2 separate regions of the Homo sapiens genome follow, and region 2 is linked to region 1. Evidence: promoter capture Hi-C in human tissues and cell types (Jung and others, 2019). All regions are on one chromosome and are shown on one strand. The core of a region is centred on a gene start or on the middle of the fragment in contact, and the rest is flanking DNA. Distances in the headings are between cores, read along the strand shown. Region 1 holds the start of ZNF525 (zinc finger protein 525). Region 2 has its middle 5.6 kb from the start of ZNF613.

Region 1 (3,546 bases), core at 1,047-3,546:
TATGTCACATTTTTGTATTACATCCTAAGCCTATAATGAGTCTGAGCATCATTGGGACATGGTTAGATGCCATCTACAAGGAAGAGAAGATGATCTTACTTTAGACATTTCAAAATTAAAAGAAAAATTTTTGAGGCATCAAAAACCCATTTAAATTTGGTGCCAGGAACTGAGGCAATCGCGAAAGCTGCTGATGGCCTCGCAAATCTTAACCCGGTCACTTGGGTTAAAACCATCGCAAGTTCCACTATTGTAAATTTCATATTAATCCTTGTGTTCCTGTTCTGTCTGTTGTTAGTCTGCAGGTGTACCCAGCAGCTCCGAAGAGACAGCGACCATTGAGAATGGGTGATGACGACGATGGTGGTTTTGTCAAAAAGAAAAGGGGGAAATGTGGGGAAAAGAAAGAGAGATCAGACTGTTACTGTGTCTATGTAGAAAAGGAAGACATAAGAAACTCCATTTTGATCTGTATTAAGAAAAATTGTTCTGCTTTGCGATGCTGTTAATCTGTAACTTTAGCCCCAACCCTGTGCTCACAGAAACATGTGCTGTATTGAATCAAGGTTTAATGGATTTAGGGCTGTGCAGGGTGTGCCTTGTTAACAATATGTTTGCAGGCAGTATGCCCGGTAAAAGTTATCGCCATTCTCCATTCTCTGTTAACCAGGGACACAATGCACTGCGGAAAGCCGCAGGGACCTCTGCCCTAGAAAGCCTGGGTATTGTCCAAGTTTCCCCCCACTGAGACAGCCTGAGATATGGCCTCATGGGAAAAGAAAGACCTTATATCCCCCAACCCGACACCCGTGAAGGGTCTGTGCTGAGGAGGAGTAGTGAAAGAGGGAGGCCTCTTTGCAGTCAAGATAAGAGGAAGGCTTCTGTCTCCTGCTCATTTCTGGGAATGGAATGCCTCGGTGTAAAGCCGACCATTCATTCTATTCTGAGGTAGGAGAAAACCGCCCTGTGGTTGGAGGTGAGACATGCTGGCAGCAATACTGCTCTGTGACTCTTTGCTACACTGAGATGTTTGTGTGAAGAGAAACATAAATCTAGCCTACGTGCACATCCAGGCACAGTACCTTTCCTTGAACTTATTCATGACACAGATTCCTTTGCTCACGTTTCCCTGCTGACCTTCTCGCCACCATCACCCTGTTGCCCTGCCACACTCCCCTCACAAAGATAGTAAAAATAGTGATCAATAAATACTGAGGGAACTCAGAGACCAGCGCCGGTGCGGGTACTCGCACACTGAGCTCCGGTTGTCTGGGCCCACTGCTGTTTCTCTATACTTTGTCTCTGTGTCTTATTTCTTTTCTCAGTTTCTCATCTCCACCTGATGAGAAACACCCGCAGGTGTGGAGGGGCAGGCCCCCTTCAGGCTGAGGCAGGGGAATCACTTGAACCCAGGAAGCAGAGGCTTGCAGTGAGTCGAGATCCCACCACTGCACTGCAGCCTGGATGACAGAGAAATACTCTGTCTCAAAACAAAAGAAAAGAAATAAGTAAATACATAAAAGAAAGTAACAGATCTCTTCCACAAATGTGGAATGGACAACTAACTGGATATCCACATGGAAAAGAACAATGTTGGATCCCTATCTCATACAATCAACCTCTTATTTTAAAACGTAAAAAAAAAACAACGAAAAATAAAGAGAGAAAGAGAGAAACGAGGAAGGGAGCCCTGCGGGAGGGGGTGTTACTTTGTCGCCCAGGCTGGCCTGGACCCCCAGGTTCAGCGATCCTCCCGCCCTGCTTCCTGAGTAGATGGGACCTCAGGCTCCCGCGCCCGCGTCCGCATCCTTGCTGTGTTTATCCGGCAGGTGGTGACCTCACTCCTCGCTGGCCTGAGCACTCCGTCCAGCATCCCAGGCGGTGGCTTTAGGGAAGTCTCTGCAGCTGAGCACAGGGTGGACTCTCCCTCCGGAGTGAATGGAGAATAGAAAGGGAGAGGATTTCTATTCTATTCTCTGGGCCGTCAGCATGACATTGTAAGTTCTGCCCAAGCAGGGCTTTGCATTTCACATTCTACTTTGCATCCGCGTTTCAGACAATTCCAGGGCTTTTGAATCATGGATCGGCCTTCCTGGCCATCTCGCCTCCAAAACCCAAAAACAGAGGCGGTGGGAGGGAGGCTGAGAGACGCACAGATCCCGCCCCAGCCCAGCCCCGCCCCGCCCTCTGCCGGTACTAAAGGGCAAGGTCTCTCCGCCTCTACCCCTACCTGGCCCAGGCCCCGCCCACCTCCTCGCAGGCCCCGCCCAGGCCTGGCTTCTGTCCTTCCCCGCTCAGACGCGCGCAAACCCGGAAGCAGATCGCGTGGAGTGAAGGTCCCTCAGCGGCGCGTGAGTTTCGCTCCATCTTGTATGAAGTCTGCTCTTCCCAGGTCCCCGGCGCTTCTGTCCCTGGGACGTGGGGTCCCTACAGACCTGGAAATTCTCACCCGTCTTCCTTCGCCCAGAGCAAATTGAGACGTCCCCGTGAGAGCCCGGGGGTCACTTCCTTTTGGGTTTAAAGTCTCCCTGAGGCTGGTCCCGTTCCGGATCTTTCTGCTATAGGGCAATATATACACTTTCTATCGCGTAGTTTTCCTGCTCTAAACCTTTTTCTGACTCCTCCCGCCCCGCGCTTTTTAAAGTCCTCACCCGAGAGGTGAATTCCCGCCCTGGGCGCCTCCCAGCCTCGCCCTCGTCGGCCCCTAGAGCGCAGCGTCGCAGCTCCGGTCCCGGGGAGGCCGAGTTCTCTGCCTGTCCTGGGATCCTACAAACCCCACCCTTGTCTTAAGGCGCCGTCGCCCCCCACGTCCCTCCTCATGCCGGGCCCTGCTGCTCCCCAGGTCTCCCATCCGCAGTCACAGCTTGCCCTGAGCCTGCGTTAGGGGAGGTGCCCGGGTTCTGTCCTGTGACACGGGGTGTTCTTGCCTGCCCAGTTCCAGCCCCTGGAAAATAAGCTCCTCCGGGATGCAGGCGTCTTACTCCAAACCCTCCTGTGATTGTGTGGGCCAAAGGGATCGGGAGACAGACAGCAGTAGAAAACCTGAGACAGAGAAAAGAAGAATGAGAAAGGCCCATAACAGATGGCAAAGTAGAGGATGGGTGAGGGATTTGCCAAGAGACAGCAAAAGTGAAAAAAAAAAAAAAAAAGATAAGCAGGAGGAGAAAAGCAACTAGAGAAATGTAGAGAAAAGCTAGATGTACAGAGAGATGAAGGACAGCAAGGTAGGGAGAGGGACAGCAAAGAGGGAGGCTCATCAGGGTGAGGGAGAGGAGGAGGGATTTGGAGCCAGGGCAGACAGAGCAGAGTGGTGCTGGTGGCAAAGAGAACAGAGGGAGAACCACAGCAGGGAGGACACCTGGGGATCTGGGGTGCCAGAGAGTGGGGACAGGGGGTATAACAGAGAAGAGAGAATTTAACGGGGAGAGCAGAGGAGGCGCAGAGATGGTGTTGCGGGAAACTGAGGACTAGAGAGACTGATATGGGGGAGACAGGAGGATGTTTATTTAAGGTACACAGCGGCTCAGCAGATTTACATCTAAAAAG
Region 2 (3,546 bases), core at 515-3,014, 1.4 Mb before region 1:
ATCGAGTGCTCCACAGTGGTTATCTATAGGAACATCTGAAGCCTGTTGTATAAAGAAAGTAATTATGTGTACCTCTAATGAATCAAAGCAGCTGACCAACCGTTACCTCTCTCTCCCTATTGATTCTACCTAATACATATGAAGGGCTGTAGAAGCTGAGGGCTGTCTTTGCTCACTAGAAGCAAGGAGTCCCCTGACCCCTTCTTTTAAAATGTATCTTTTTGTCTTTGTCTTCACTTCTGCATTTGTCCCATTTCGTTCAATCCCATAGGAACAGACTGTAACAGGCATTGACATTTTGGTTTGGAGAATTCTTTATTTTGGGGCACTGTAGTGTCATTGTAGGATGCTTAGCAGCATTCTTAGCCTCTATCCACTAGCTCCAATTAGCACACCCTCCTTTCCCAGGTGTGACAATCAAAAATTTCTCCAGACATTGCCAAATGTCACCTGGGGTCAAAAAATGAAAACCACTGATAAAAAAAAAAGCAGAATATTGAGGACTCTTTGTGGAAGACCATATGATGGTCATAGAATCCATCCATCTTAAAAATCTCTACATTTTATCCCTGAATAAAAACAGACCCCCAGGAGGCTGTGGACTTTGGCTACACTGTTCTGGGTCCCTGAAGCACTCTGATCACTGAGTTTGGTTTTGGTATTACACCACTGGCTTATCTGTGGGGGCACTAACTTCTATATGATCTATATCATGACCCATCAAAGAAATTTCTTCTTAAGTAACATGAAATATTCACTTTTCTAGAGGAGCTTTCTCCTCAGGGAAAAGGAAACGATTTGTTATTGTGTCCATGTGGTAGACTGCATTTCCCAAAGATGACCACAATAATATCTCACATTCCAAAGAAAACCTTCTGCTAAATCTTGCCACTCCCACACGAAGAGATGGAGCCTATTCCCTTCCCCCTTGAACCTAGCTAGTCTTGGTGATTTGCTTGTACCTGCAGAATACAACAGAGGTGACACAACATAACTTCCGAGGCTAAGGCAGAAAAGCATGGGGGAAAGAATGAGAGATCAGACTATTACTGCATCTATGTAGAAAAAGGAAGACAAAAGAAACTCCATTTTGATCTGTACTAAGAGAAATTATTCTGCCTTGAGATGCTGTTAATCTGTAACCCTAGCCCCAACCCTATGCTTGCAGAAACATGTATTGTATTGACTCAAGGTTTAATGGACTTAGGGCTGTGCAGGATGTGCCTTGGTAAAAATGTGTTTGCAGGCAGTATGCTTGGTAAAAGTCATGGCCATTCTCCAGTCTCGAGTACCCAGGGACACAATGCACTGCAGAAAGCCACAGGGATCTCTGCCCAAGAAAGCCTGTGTATTGTCCAAGGTTTCTCTCCACTGAGACAGCCTGAGATATGGCCTCATGGAAAGAGAAAGACCAGACTGTCCCCCAGCCTGACACCCATAAAGGGTCTGTGCTGAGGAGGATTAGTGAAAGAGGAAGACCTCTTTGCAGTTGAGATAAGAGGAAGGTATCTCTCTCCTGCTCATCCCTGGGAATGGAATGTGTCAGTGTAAAACCCGATCGTACATTCTATTTACTGAGATAGGAGAAAACTGCCTTATGGCTGGAGGTGAGACATGGTGGGGGCAATACTGTCTTTACTTCACTGAGATGTTTGTGTAAAGTCAAAGATAAATCTGGCCTATGTGCATATCAAGGCACAGCACCTTTCCTTAAACTTATTTATAACACAGAGTCCTTTGCTCACGTTTTCCTGCTGACCCTCTTCCCACCATTACCCTATAGTCCTCCCACATCCCCCTCACCGAGATAGTAGAGATAGTAATCAATAAATACTGAGGGAACTCAGAGACCAGTGTTGGTGCGGGTCCTCCGTATGTTGAGTGCCGGTTCCCTGGGCCCACTTTTCTTCCTCGATAGTTTGTCTCTGTGTCTTATTTCTTTTCTCAGTCTCTCGTCTCCACCTTGTGAGAAATACCCACAGGTGTGGAGGGGCAGGCCTCCTTCATCTGGCACCCAACATGGGGCACGAACCCATGACCCTGAGATTAAGAGTCTCATGCTCTACCGACTGAGCTAGCTGCAGAATGCAACAGAGGTGACACAACATAACTTCTGAGGCTAAGGCAGAAAAGGCCCTGTGGCCGCATCTTGGCTGTCTCAGAGCCAGCATCATGCTGTGAGAAGCCCATCCATGTCACATGTGGAGGTCACACACAGGTGCTCTGGCTGGCAGCCTCCTTGAGCCTAGTTTTCAAGTAATCCCAGCCTGGCACACAGATACAGAGAGGAAGAAGCCTTCAGATGATTCCAGTCCCCAACCTTCTGAGTCTTCCAGTTGAGATTCAAGACATCATGGTGTGAAGACAAGCTGTGCAGTAAAGGATAAACAGAGCGAGTCTGGGTTACCCAGAAACTGAACATTCCAAAGAAAGGCTCAGCCCTTCCCTATACCTGGCAGGTAACTTCTAAACCAAGCTTGTCCAACCTGCGGACCATGGGGTGCACATGGCCCAGGAGGGCTTTGTTTTGTTGTTGTTGGTGGTGGTGCACACAGCCCAGGAGGGCTTTGTTTTGTTGTTGTTGTTGTTGTTTTTGTTGTTTGAGATGGAGTTTCACTCTGTTGCCCAGGCTGGAGTGCAGGGGCACAATCTCAGCTCACTGCAACCTCCAACTCTCAAGTTCAAGCGATTCTCCCACATTCGAGCAATTCTCCTACTTCAGCCTCCCAAGTAGCTGAGATTACAGGCATGTGCCACCATGCCCAGATAGTTTTTTGTATTTTTAGTAGAGACGGGGTTTCACCATATTGGCAAGCCTGGTCTGGAACTACTGACCTCAAGTGATCTGCCCACTTCAGCCTCCCAAAGTGCTGGGATTACAGGCATAAGCCACTGTGCCTGGCCTCCAGGAGGGCTTTGAATGCAAAACAAATTTGTAAACTTTCTTAAAACATTATGAGATTTTTTGAGTTTTTTTTCTTTTTTCTTTAAGCTCATCAGCTATTGTTAGTGTTAGTATATTTTATGTGTGGCCCAAGACAATTCTTCTTCCAGTGTGGCCCAGGGAAGCCAAAAGACTGCACACTCCTACTCTAAGCCGTTGGAATATATTGTCCGATGAGGGTCTTTGTTTACTGGGAGCCTTGGGTCACACAAGATCGTCTATGCTAACAATGTATGATGGAAGCCTTGGGCCACACTGTAGTTATGGTGGCCTCTGAAAGGGCTGAAGAATAAGGTCAGCCACTCATGTGCTCAGCCTCACCCATATAACTAAAGCCAAATAAAAACCCTGGACACCCAGGCTCAAGTGGGCTTCCTGTACTGGCAATACATCATGCCTGTCGTCACACATCATGGCTAGGACAATCAAACATTGTCCATATGACTCCACAGAGAGAGGAAAACTCAAAGCTTCTGCACAGCATCTCCCAAACCCTGCCCTACACACCTTTCTCTGTTTCTGATTTTAACTGTATCCAGTCTATGTAATAAAATAAAATCATGAATATGACAGTTTTGCTGAGCTCTGTGTTATTCTAACAA

The links. The method cuts DNA at HindIII sites, captures the fragments that hold promoters and counts their contacts. A contact is called where the count stands out against the background at its distance.
Region 2: a fragment that was not itself captured here is called in contact with the fragment with the promoter of ZNF525 in region 1 in 1 of the 25 tissues and cell types used here (spleen).

The regions. Positions count from the first base shown.
Region 1 is chr19:53,363,409-53,366,954 of GRCh38, forward strand. ZNF525 (zinc finger protein 525) reads left to right here and starts at 2,297. Exons shown (of 4, transcript NM_001348156.2): 1 at 2,297-2,351. RefSeq lists silencers at 2,185-2,234, 2,635-2,694 and an enhancer at 2,345-2,594. The HindIII fragment of the contact is 12,378 bases long and covers 1-3,546 here.
Region 2 is chr19:51,920,132-51,923,677 of GRCh38, forward strand. No RefSeq gene overlaps it. Among named protein-coding and RNA genes, the nearest start is that of ZNF613, 5.6 kb to the right of the region's middle. The HindIII fragment of the contact is 6,337 bases long and covers 1-3,546 here.